Linked DNA regions of Homo sapiens: region 2 is linked to region 1. The links are contacts of gene promoters, found by promoter capture Hi-C in human tissues and cell types (Jung and others, 2019). All regions are on one chromosome and are shown on one strand. Each heading gives the region's core, a stretch centred on a gene start or on the middle of the fragment in contact. The rest is flanking DNA. Distances are from core to core; before and after follow the strand shown.

The links. The method cuts DNA at HindIII sites, captures the fragments that hold promoters and counts their contacts. A contact is called where the count stands out against the background at its distance.
Region 2: a contact is called between a fragment that was not itself captured here and the fragment with the promoter of MZT2A in region 1, in 1 of the 25 tissues and cell types used here (stomach).

The regions. Positions count from the first base shown.
Region 1 is chr2:131,487,893-131,493,714 of GRCh38, forward strand. MZT2A (mitotic spindle organizing protein 2A) reads right to left here and starts at 4,505. Exons shown (of 3, transcript NM_001085365.2): 1 at 4,315-4,505; 2 at 3,984-4,132. The coding sequence starts at 4,484. It overlaps MIR4784 (microRNA 4784), which reads right to left and starts at 3,344; the gene lies at 3,268-3,344. It also overlaps the pseudogene SMPD4BP. RefSeq lists enhancers at 3,836-4,629, 4,630-5,423 and silencers at 4,226-4,735, 5,256-5,445. The HindIII fragment of the contact is 8,382 bases long and covers 956-5,822 here.
Region 2 is chr2:132,563,564-132,569,000 of GRCh38, forward strand. All of the region lies in intron 1 of GPR39 (G protein-coupled receptor 39), which reads left to right. Among named protein-coding and RNA genes, the nearest start is that of LYPD1, 100 kb to the right of the region's middle. The HindIII fragment of the contact is 7,792 bases long and covers 1-5,437 here.

The sequences.
Region 1 (5,822 bases), core at 3,255-5,754:
AGTAGTTGGAACTACAGATGTGTGCCACCATGCCCTGCTAATTTTTGTATGTTTTGTAGAGATTGGGTCTCCCTGTGTTGCCCTGGCTAGTCCTGAACTGCTGAGCTCAAGAGATCCAGCAGCCTCGGCCTCCCAAGGTGTGGTGGGTTTTTTGCATTCCCTTTTGTACCGGTCCTTTGGCATCTGCTGCGCATACCACACGCAGTGCAATGACCACGCCAGCCATGTGTGGCTCGAAGTTCCTGTATCAGGCAGCACAGCTCAGGTGAGACTCACGGCTTCCACACTCCAAACGTCATCTTACACGCATGCTCTGGACAACTTTTAAAACGTATAGTTTCCCTAAACTTAAATATAACGCTTGACTGAATTTATTTTTCCCTCAATGACTCCAGACTCTCACCAAGACAAGCATCGACCCTCTGTGCTTCTGGGGTTTTCTATTTCCCCTTCCCTGTGGGTATGAGTGAATCTGGTGGTGGTTGTTCCCACAGGCCGTCTGCATGGCTGGGGGACAGGCATCCAGAGGACCCAGGGTGCCTGCTGCAGCTCACAGAGGCAAGCTCGAGAGGGCCTGGCCCATAGCCTGGAGAACTCAACACCCGAGTCCTGTGGGAAACCTATGGCCTCCATGCCCCTCCCCCCGGATTACTCCGACAACCCCCCTGCCATATGGGGTGACAGAATCCTCCACCCCAGATTCTGCCATTACCAGGGCAGCTGGAGCTCTGTGTGGTCAGAAGCTGTAATATGTGGGCCTCAGAGAGCTCTCAGCATTCCATCTGTGGCCTCTGCCTCTCACTCAGCAGCACACGTCTGCCCCATTCCCCTCCACCTCCTCCTCAGGTTCCACTCTATCCCCATGGGGCCTCGGTGCCCTCATGTCGTGGCTTTCTGCCACCCAGCCTACAGGACCTGGGCTATGCTTCCAGGACACAGCCCTCGAGAAACAAATGACCCTGAGGGGCCCAGCACTCCAGGCCACTCCTGTCCTCGGGTAAATTCTCTTGGAGCCCCCATTCGCTCACATGGCACCCCCTAATCCTCCTGGCCCCTCTATGCCTGCATTTCCAGTGCCACAACCCCCACATACATCTTGACTGTGCCCCCCCACCTGCCTCCTCCTGCCCTGGGCCTACCAGCACCTGGACAGCGCTCTGCCTCTCCCATGCCCTCCCACTGCCCCAGCTCACACGTGTGGGGCTCTGCTGACCCTTCCTGCTCCACCCTGTGTAACCCTTGCTGCTCTCTGGGCTCTGAAGCCTCCTCCCAACTCCATTGCTAGTGGTTTTTCTTTTCCTTTCTTTTCTTTTTTTTTTTTTGAGACAGGGTCTTGCTCTGTTGCCCAGGCTGGAGTCCAGTCACAAGCTCTTGGCTCACTGCAACATCCCCCTCAGGCTCAGGCAATCCTCCCACCTCAGCCTCCCAAGTAGCTGGGAATACAGATGGGCGCCACCACCACGCCCACCTGGCTAGTTTTTTTTTTTTTTGAGATGGAGTCTCGCTCTGTCACCCAGGCTGGAGTGCAGTGGCGCAATCTTGGCTCACTGTAAGCTCCACCTCCCAGGTTCACGCCATTCTCCTGCCTCAGCCTCCCAAGTAGCTGGGACTAAAGGCACCTGCCACCATGCCTGGCTAATTTTTTTTTTGTATTTTTAGTAGAGATGGGGTTTCACCGTGTTAGCCAGGATGGTCTCGATCTCCTGAGCTCGAGATCCGCCCGCCTCAGCCTCCCAAAGTGCTGGGATTACAGGCGTGAGCCACCGCGCCGGGCCCTGCCTGGCTAGTTTTTGTATTTTTTGTAGAGATGGGGTCTTGCTATGTTGCCCAGGCTGATCTTGAACTCCTGAGCTCAAGGAATCCACCTGCCTTGACTTCCCGAAGTGCTGGGATTACAGGTGTGAGCCAGCACACTGGTCTCACTGGTGGTTTTCCTCACTGCCTCTCACTGGACTGAGTGTGATCATCTCACTTCCCTGCCACGCCCTCTGCCCTGAGAGCTAGGCCTGGCACCCAGAGCCCTGAGTGAGTGCTAAGTGAGCAGCAACATCTCCTGGAGTGACAAGAACTCTGTTCCCAGTTTCTCCCTCCTGCTGGACACTTGCCCCTCAATTGCTCATCTCAGCCTGCAGTCCATACACCCCTACTCCAGGCCTGTCCTTCAGGCCCTCTCCACCCTCTCTTGGGCCTGAGCTCTGGGTGGCAGTGAGGTGGCCGCTGTCAGGAGGCTCATGCAGGAGGCGCGACCAAAGACCCCTGGGCTCTCACAGGCCCCTGATCACACCTGGTGACACCTGGAAAGTGTCCCAACTCAGGAGTGAGGCGGGCAAGGGGGCTGAGTGCTGGAGTGTGGCCATGGGACCAGCACATGGCATCTGTGTGGCACTGCCTGGCAGACTCTGGGAAGGTGGGAGTCTCTGTTTCAGCCTCCAGACTTCCTGTCCAGGTAGGGGACAACTTCTAAGAGGCCGAGGCGTTTGTCACGCCTGGGGCTGTGCTCTCCAGCAGAGCACACTGCACCCGGCTGGCTGTCTTCCCCTGGAGAGGGGCTCTTTACACTCACCACTAGTTCGCCTCTGGGGTGTGGGGATGTTGGTCCTGTCCCCGGATGCCAGCCCGACTGTGGGGTCTAGAGACTGCCACACCATGTCTCTAATAAACCGAGTCAGAAATAGTGCCCTGTGGCTAAGCGGCAGGGCAGCGGTGGCCTGCATGATCCTGCCCTTGCAGCTCAAAGCTGCTTGGGCCTCTTGGGGCCATGCAGTTTCCATGAAAACAAGGAAGAGCACCAACCCCCAGAGATAAGCCAATAAACGCAACCTGCAAAAGGAGAGAACAGGCAGCAAGAGAGGCGGAGGGAACCCGGGGGGCCTGGAGAGAGAGGTGAGTGTGTGGCAGCTGGGCTGTGGAGCATAACCAGAGAGGCCGCAGGCTGCGGGCTGGAGGAAAACGAGGGCCTTGCAGGGGGGCTACTGTTCCTGGCAGAGAGAAAGGAGGCCTCTGGAGGTCAGAGAGAGACACAAAGAGAGCAGACAGAGCGAGGGTCAGTGAAGAGGCCAGCACGCAGGTGCCCGGGCCCTCTTGGGTCAGCGGGCGTGGGTGCCCAGGCCCTGGCACTTCCCCCATGAAGGCAGCCTGCTTTCCACGCCTTCTCATGATGCCTGTGAGGGTCTCCTCCTGCTTCCAGGCAGGGAGCCAGCTCTGGGCCTCCTTCCATTGGCCTGGGAGGTTGTGCTGCATTTCAGAGAGAGCCATCGGGAGCAGAAGCAACATGCGGAGAGGATGAGCAGGGACGGAGGCTCCACCATGACACTCTCAGTCCCAGCATCTCCTCAGCCCAGTCACCACACTGGAGAGGGAGGAGGCCCTTCAGACCCCGCAGGCCTCTGCACCCTGGGAGTTCCGCGTCTAACTCTCTTCCTGCAATCATCAGAGGCAGGAACTGGGCCCAGGTGGGGTAAAGGCAGGAAGACGTCTGCCTGCCCTGCTCCCTGGGCACTTCCCTGGATGCTGTATACCACAGGACAGAGATCGAGACTGTCTTTTGAAAAACATTTAGAGACAGGATCTCACCCTGTCACCCAGACTGGTCTCAAACTCATGGCCTCAAAGGATCCTCCCGCCGTGGGGTCCCAAAGATTATAGGCGTGAGCCACGGCGCCCAGCCCCAAACCGTCTTGATTCCCGACTTTGTAGGATGAAGGCCTGAGTGAAGAGGTGGGGAGGAGCTAAGCGGAGGAGCCCTACCCAGCCTGGACCACCCTGGGGCACGCACTCTGCGTCCACCTGACCTGGACGTGCCTCCTAAGGCTGGCAGCGAAGCCCAGGAGCAGAGCCCACGGATGGGCCCTGCAGGTGCTGGGCCTAGACCGACCGACAGACAGGCCTGGCCACTCAGGGCCACGCCGCCGCTGTGCCGCGCCTGCCCCCTCCCCGCCCGCCACCCCCGCCACTGGGGCAGGGACAGCGGGCCCAGCTCTGACCTCGGGTCTCGGGCACGCTCGACGTGGGCAGAGACACGGCCGCAGGGTCCTGGGGCTCGCTCGCTAGCCTCTGCCCGGCACACATGGACTTGAGCATCTGGAAGACGGCGAGGGGGGCCACGTTCAGCTTCAGCAGGTCCACCAGGATCCTGGCGGGGACAGACGCGGGGCCGGTGAGCCCTCTCCGCCCGGCGCGGCCACCTCCCTGAAGACCGGACAAGGACGGGGGCGGGGGCAGCGGGGGCTCCTCCCGACCAGCGGGCCGGGCGTACCCGGAGAGCAGAGGTCGGGGGTGTCTGGCGAGCATGCGGCCCCCACCCGCCCCGCTCACTTGAACACGTCGGGGTCGATACCGCCGCCCGCCGCCTGAGCCAGCTCGTACAGCTCCATCTCCTCGGTGCTCAGCACCTTCTTGCGCCGCAGCGCCAGCTTCTGCCGGGCCGCCTCCAGCCCCGGGGGCGCCGCCGACCCCGGCCCAGGCCCTACGCCCTGCGCCGCCATCCGCGAGGCCCGCCGAAAGGTGCGCCCCGCCCCGCCGCGCCCCCTAGCGGATGCGCCCACCGCCCTCTCCCTGCAGCGCCAGCGTCTGGCCTCCCGGGCTGCCCTGGCGGGAGCGGCGGGAGCGCGGGGACGGGGCCGCCTCCTCGGCGTCATTGGAGCCCAACAGTTAGTGGGCGCTCACGGTGTGCTGAGCGGCGCGCTAGGCGTCGGGAGTGGCATGGCGGACTGCAGGGGCCAGCTGCTTGGCGGTCAGGGCGTCCCTGATAGACTTGCATTGGTCGTGCTCGCTTAGGTGGCAGCACCCAGCCCAGTGCCAGGCATACATTGGGCGCTCAGTCAATACCTGTTTCAAGAAAGCGTGCAATTTTCTGGTCCGCACCGGTGCACCACTAGGGGTCGCTCTTCGGGGGGGGTGGGGGGCACTAATCAACAACCCTGCTTACGCGCACGCGCATTCCTTGCTAGGGAGAAAGTGCGTGAGCCCTACCTTGGGGCGCCAGAGGCCGCCACAACGCAGGCGCATTCAGCTAAGGACCACTCCCTCCCCCCGCACTCCTGCCTCGCCATTTCCCCTCCCTGGCCGGCCGGCCGGCCTTCTTCGCTTTGCGCACGTACCTTTTGAGGTAACGGCCCAAAGAGGTAGAAGCGCTTTTCCCGCCCGGCCGCGGGGCGTGGCTCTGCGCGCAGCTTGATGACGACGTTTTGGCGCGGTGGCGGAATGGCGGCTTCCACCTCTGAAGCGGGCGACGCTATGGGTCCCACAGGTGAGTGGCGCGGGACGCGCGCGTGAGACGGTCCGACGCCCTGGGGGCTTCCGCGAGCCCCTGCGGAGGCCATCTCCGTTCCTCCGCGAGCCCCAGGACTCGGGCGGCCCGGCGGCTCTGCCCAGGCCGGGCAGGCTGGGGAGTGGAGGGCCCCGGCTGAGTCTTCCTGCCACTCCTCTGGGCCATGCCTTTGTGCCACCTTCCCGCGCCGCTCGTACACTCTGTTCTGGTCCGGTAGGTGTTCGTTGAAGGTTACCCGTCGTTGAAGGAATTGAGGGAAGGAGAGCTTTGTGTTGAAATTGAGCCTTGGGCTCAACAGGCGGTGTGGGAGGAAGAGCCGGGTGTGGGTCCCAGCTCGACCCTTCCCCTGTGCGCTCCACATCTCCGAGCCTTGGTTTCGGAGGCTCCCGAAGCCCAATTCGCAGGAGAGTTGGAAACAAGTGGGCGCGTGCTGTTAAGGGAGGTCTTGGCATGACAGAATTTGCTTGGAATGATTAGCGTTGCCCAAGGGCTGTCGCTGTCAGAAAAACAAAACAAAACGAAACAAAAAAAACAAACGGGTCCGAAGCAGCTC
Region 2 (5,437 bases), core at 338-2,837, 1.1 Mb after region 1:
AAGGTTTGAGAATCACTGGATTATGGTGAATGTGACCACCACCTGGCTATGATCAGTCATTGCCTTCCAGCTCAGAGCTTCTCAACCCTGGCTGCTTGTTAAAATCCTACCTGGGGGACTTGCAGAAATCCCAATGCTCAGGCCTTACTCCAAGCCAATTAAATGAGAACGTCTGGGAGTGGGGCCCTGGCATTGTTTTGCTGTTTTTTGGCACTGGTATTTCTGAAAGCACGCAGATGATTTAAATAGGTGGCCTGGGCTGAGGATTGCTCCTCTAACTTACTGGTTCTCAAACTTGGCTGCACATTGGAATTGCCTGGAGGTGCCTGGGTCCCCCCACCCCAACCATGGACATGGTTGTAATTGGTGTGGGATGTGACCTGGCCTCCAAGCCAGGATTTGTAAAAGCTGTTCAGTGGTTCAAACGTACAGCAAAGCCTTGAAACCACTGCTGCAAGCACATCCTCCCACAGCCTCTAACAGCCCATTTCACCTTGAAAAGAAAATCCATTGTCATAAGCAGATGAGCAACCCAACCTGTCAGGAACATATTTATCCTCCTGGCTGACTTGAGGCGGCTGAGGATCACTGAGGTGGGAGTCACCACTGAAAATAGTCACTGTGCTGGAGAGCGCTGGAGGAAATGTAATAGTGTTAGTTTACACATTAAACCCTTTGATACCAAGGGCCCTGCCACCTGCACCACCAGCCAAGCATCCCTGATTCCTGGCTGCCTTTGTGGCCCCTGTGGCCTTGGATGAGTGGCCACCCCTCCCAGGAAACATTCAGAGCACATTACAGATAATAAACAGATATGACTAATGAGCTCAATTATTGTAAATTTCTGGGTCATTTCTTATGGCATTTCCCTCCCTTCTCCTTTCATCTTATGTTCAAAATAATTTCTTTGTATTTCCCTATCAACATGTCCAACCTGAGTTGGCGCACTGCCCCGAGTAGGTAAGGAGGAGAGGACATTCTGTTTTCTCACCCCTTCCTCTGCTGACTCCCACCTCCACCTCATTTCCTCTCTGTGGCTTGTGCCAGGTGGGCCAGTACCTGCACCATCTTGAGAAAAAGTTGCTCAAAAAGATGCATGTAATATCACTCTCCACGGAGTCTTACAAATCTAACACTTTGAGGGCATAATCTTCAAAATTTCTGGTTTATTGATGAGTATTCTTATATGATTTCTCAACACATTGGAATCACCTAGGAAGCTTTAATAACTATTTTTTTCTTTTTTCTTTTTTTTTTTTTTTTTTTTTGTTGAGACAGAGTCTCGCTCTATTGCCCAGGCTGGAGTACAGTGGCATGATCTAGGCTCACCACAACCTCCACCTCCCAGGCTCAAGCAATTCTCCTGCCACAGCCTCTTGAGTAGCTGGGATTACAGGCACCTGCCACCATGCCTGGCTAATTTTTCTGTATTTTTAGTAGAGATCGGGTATCACCATGTTGGCCAGGATGGTCTCGAACTCCTGACCTCAGGTGATCCACCTGCCTCAGCCTCCCAAAGTGCTGGGATTACAGGCGTGAGTCACCACTCCTGGCCTTTAATAACTATTGATGCCATAATTGACCCACAGAGATTCTGATTTAGTGGCGTGACGATTAGCCGGGCATGGGGATTTTTTGGATGCTTCCTATGTGATTCCAGTATTTAGCCAAGTCATTTGTCAATGAGAGGGACTGAGAAAGAAGAAGCAGAAGGACACTCATAGTGAAACATCGCTCAAGTTGCAGTCTTCCTATGGACTCTCCCCTATGAACTCCCAATAGCCTTTGTCTCATTTAGATTCTTTATAAGCACAAGCAGTGAGATGAGTTTCCTTTTTTTTTTTTTTTTATTATACTTTAAGTTTTAGGGTACATGTGCACATTGTGCAGGTTAGTTACATATGTATACATGTGCCATGCTGGTGCGCTGCATCCACTAACTCGTCATCTAGCCTTAGGTATATCTCCCAATGCCATCCCTCCCCCCTCCCCCCACCCCACCACAGTCCCCAGAGTGTGATATTCCCCTTCATGTGTCCATGTGATCTCATTGTTCAATTCCCACCTATGAGTGAGAATATGCGGTGTTTGATTTTTTGTTCTTGCGATAGTTTACTGAGAATGATGATTTCCAATTTCATCCATGTCCCTACAAAGGACATGAACTCATCATTTTTTATGGCTGCATAGTATTCCATGGTGTATATGTGCCACATTTTCTTAATCCAGTCTATCATTGTTGGACATTTGGGTTGGTTCCAAGTCTTTGCTATTGTGAATAATGCTGCAATAAACATACATGTGCATGTGTCTTCATAGCAGCATGATTTATAGTCATTTGGGTATATACCCAGTAATGGGATGGCTGGGTCAAATGGTATTTCTAGTTCTAGATCCCTGAGGAATCGCCACACTGACTTCCACAATGGTTGAACTAGTTTACAGTCCCACCAACAGTGTAAAAGTGTTCCTATTTCTCCACATCCTCTCCAGCACCTGTTGTTTCCTGACTTTTTAATGATTGCCATTCTAACTGGTGTGAGATGATATCTCATAGTGGTTTTGATTTACATTTCTCTGATGGCCAGTGATGATGAGCATTTTTTCATGTGTTTTTTGGCTGCATAAATGTCTTCTTTTGAGAAGTGTCTGTTCATGTCCTTCACCCACTTTTTGATGGGGTTGTTTGTTTTTTTCTTGTAAATTTGTTTGAGTTCATTGTAGATTCTGGATATTAGCCCTTTGTCAGATGAGTAGGTTGCAAAAATTTTCTCCCATGTTGTAGGTTGCCTGTTCACTCTGATGGTAGTTTCTTTTGCTGTGCAGAAGCTCTTTAGTTTAATTAGATCCCATTTGTCAATTTTGGCTTTTGTTGCCATTGCTTAGTTTCCTAGGAGATCAGAAGCGGGGTGAGGCCACAGAAAAATCTCAAAAGCAGGTGTGTTTGTTTTCAGTGTCCTTTCATCTCTCTAGGAGTTTTGTCCTAGGGTTGCTGTCTCATTGCTCACACTACCCTCCTCTCCTCCATGACCCATGAAACGTTTTTGCAACATTGTTCGGGTGGCACAGATGCAAGAGAAAAAACTCAGTATTGGTGAGAGTGTGGGCTGGTGAAGGAGTGGGTGATTGACAGGATGTCTTGTGATGCACAAGATACTGAAGGAGCTTAGGGTAAGTGCTCCGGCTTCACGCACTGTGGTACACATAACGTTCCCTGGTCATTTCCCAATACACATTCCCTGGCCATTCTCCCTCAGCTTTCCCTCCAAGGCCTTTTCCTTCCCGTGAACATTTTTCTGTTCTGTGTTCCATACCTTCAGCGTCCTGCTGTGGGACCAGCTCTGACAGCCACAATCAATGGCCTTCCCGGGAGCCTTCTCCATTTGCCTTCTTCCTTGCTGGCTGCTGTGGTTTGAATGTTTACCCCCTCTGAAATTCATGTTGAAACTTAATCCCCAAAGTAACAGTATTAAGAAGTGGAGCCTTTGGCCAGGTGTGGTGGCTCATGCCTGTAATCCCAGCACTTTGGGAGGCCGAGGCAGGTGGATCATGATGTCAGGATTTTGAGACCAACATGGTGAAACCCCATCTCTAGTAAAAATACAAAAATTAACCGGGCATGGCGGCACATGCCTGTAATCTCAGCTACTCAGGAGGCTGAGGCAGGAGAATCGCTTGAACCCGGGAGGTGGAGGTTGCGGTGAGCCGAGATTGCACCACTGCACTCCAGCCTGGGGGACAGAGGGAGACAGTCTCAAAAAAAAAGTGGAGCCTTTAAAAGGTGATTGAGTCATGAAGGCTCTGTCCCCTTGGATGGATTAATCCACTCATGGATGAATGGGTTAATGGGTTATCACTGGAGTGGGTTAGTCAGCACAAGCAGGGTCTGTTATAAAAGCTAGTTTGGCTCATGCTCCAGCCCTCTCTCTGTGCGATGCCCTGCACCTCCTCAGCACTCTGCAGGGTCCCCACCAGCAAGAAGAATTTGACCTTGGATTTCTCGGCCTCCTGAATGGTAAGAAAGAAATTTCTTTTCTTTATAAATTACCCGGTGTTAGGTATTCAGCTACAGAAACAGAAAACAGGCTAAGATACCAGCAGAACCTGGAACTTTTTCAGGTATCTGACCCTGCAGCAGATGGTGAATCTTGATTAGTTCAAGCAGTGGTCTTTTACCTTGGCTGCATATTAATAACACCTGAAAAGTTCTTTAAAAACTACTGATACTTGGGCCTCACCATCGTTTAATTGGTCTTTCCTGTGCGGTTCTCATGATAGTAAGTTTCACGAGATCTGATGGTTTTAAAAAGGGGAGTTTCCCTACACAAGCGCTCTTCTCTTGTCTGCCGCTATGTGAGACATGCCTTTCACCTTCTGTCATGATTGTGAGTCCTCCCCAGCCATGTGGAACTGTAAGTCCAAGAGACTTCTTCCTTTTGTAAATTGCCCAGTCTCAGATTTGTCTTTATCTGCTGGTGACACTGGTTCTGATTTAACTGGCCTTGAGTAGGGATGAAGAGTTCCCATATGATTAAAATGTGCAGCCAAGACTGAAGATCACTGGTCTAGGATAATCATGGCATTTCAACTCCCCTTGCCAGTGGTTAAGATAGGGCAAACAATGCCAGTTTGGCAGATGAAACATGAGAATGCAGGGATGGGAGTGGGGAGATTTAGAAAAAGTGTCTCACCTTTAGGAAGTGATGATGTTTCTTTCCTTTTCATGGTCTTGGAGTTGTTGGGCGGGGGTGTGATGCTTGTCGCCATTGCAGCTATCTTTTGACTGTGAGTGGATATACCAGAGGACATAGATTTCTATGATGAGGTTTGCATGATGCAATGTTAAAAACAACCTAGGTTGGCCAGGCACGGTGGCTTATGCCTGTAATCTCAGCACTTTGGGAGGCTGAGGTGGGCAGATCACCTGAGGCCAGGAATTCGAAACCAGCCTAGCCAACAGGGCGAAACCCTGTCTCTATTAAAAATACAAAAATTAGCCAGCCTTGGTGGTGGGCACCTGTAATCCCAGCTACCCAGGAGCCTGAGGCAGGAGAATGGCTGGAACCCGGGAGGCAGAGGCTGCAGTGAGCTGAGATTGTGTCACTGCACTCCAGTCTGGGTGACAGAGCAAGACTCTGTCTCAAAAAACCTAGGTTTTCAACAGTGTCATCGAGCTGCTAAACAAGTCAAATTTGGAACCCCAGCCCTCTAGTTGGGGAGAGGTGGCTTGATAGCATGCCCTGCTAAACATGCACAGCACCTTCTGCTGGGTGTAAAGCTCTCTTAGCTCTAAAGCTGTTCACTCATCACAGGAGAGCTGCCAAGAGCCAGTGGCCTTGCTGGGCAGGCCTTATCTGCTACTGAGGGCTTTGGGCAGTGAACGAAGACAGAATTTGGGCAGATTCAGGCTTGACTTCTGGTCACTGTGTGAATTGAC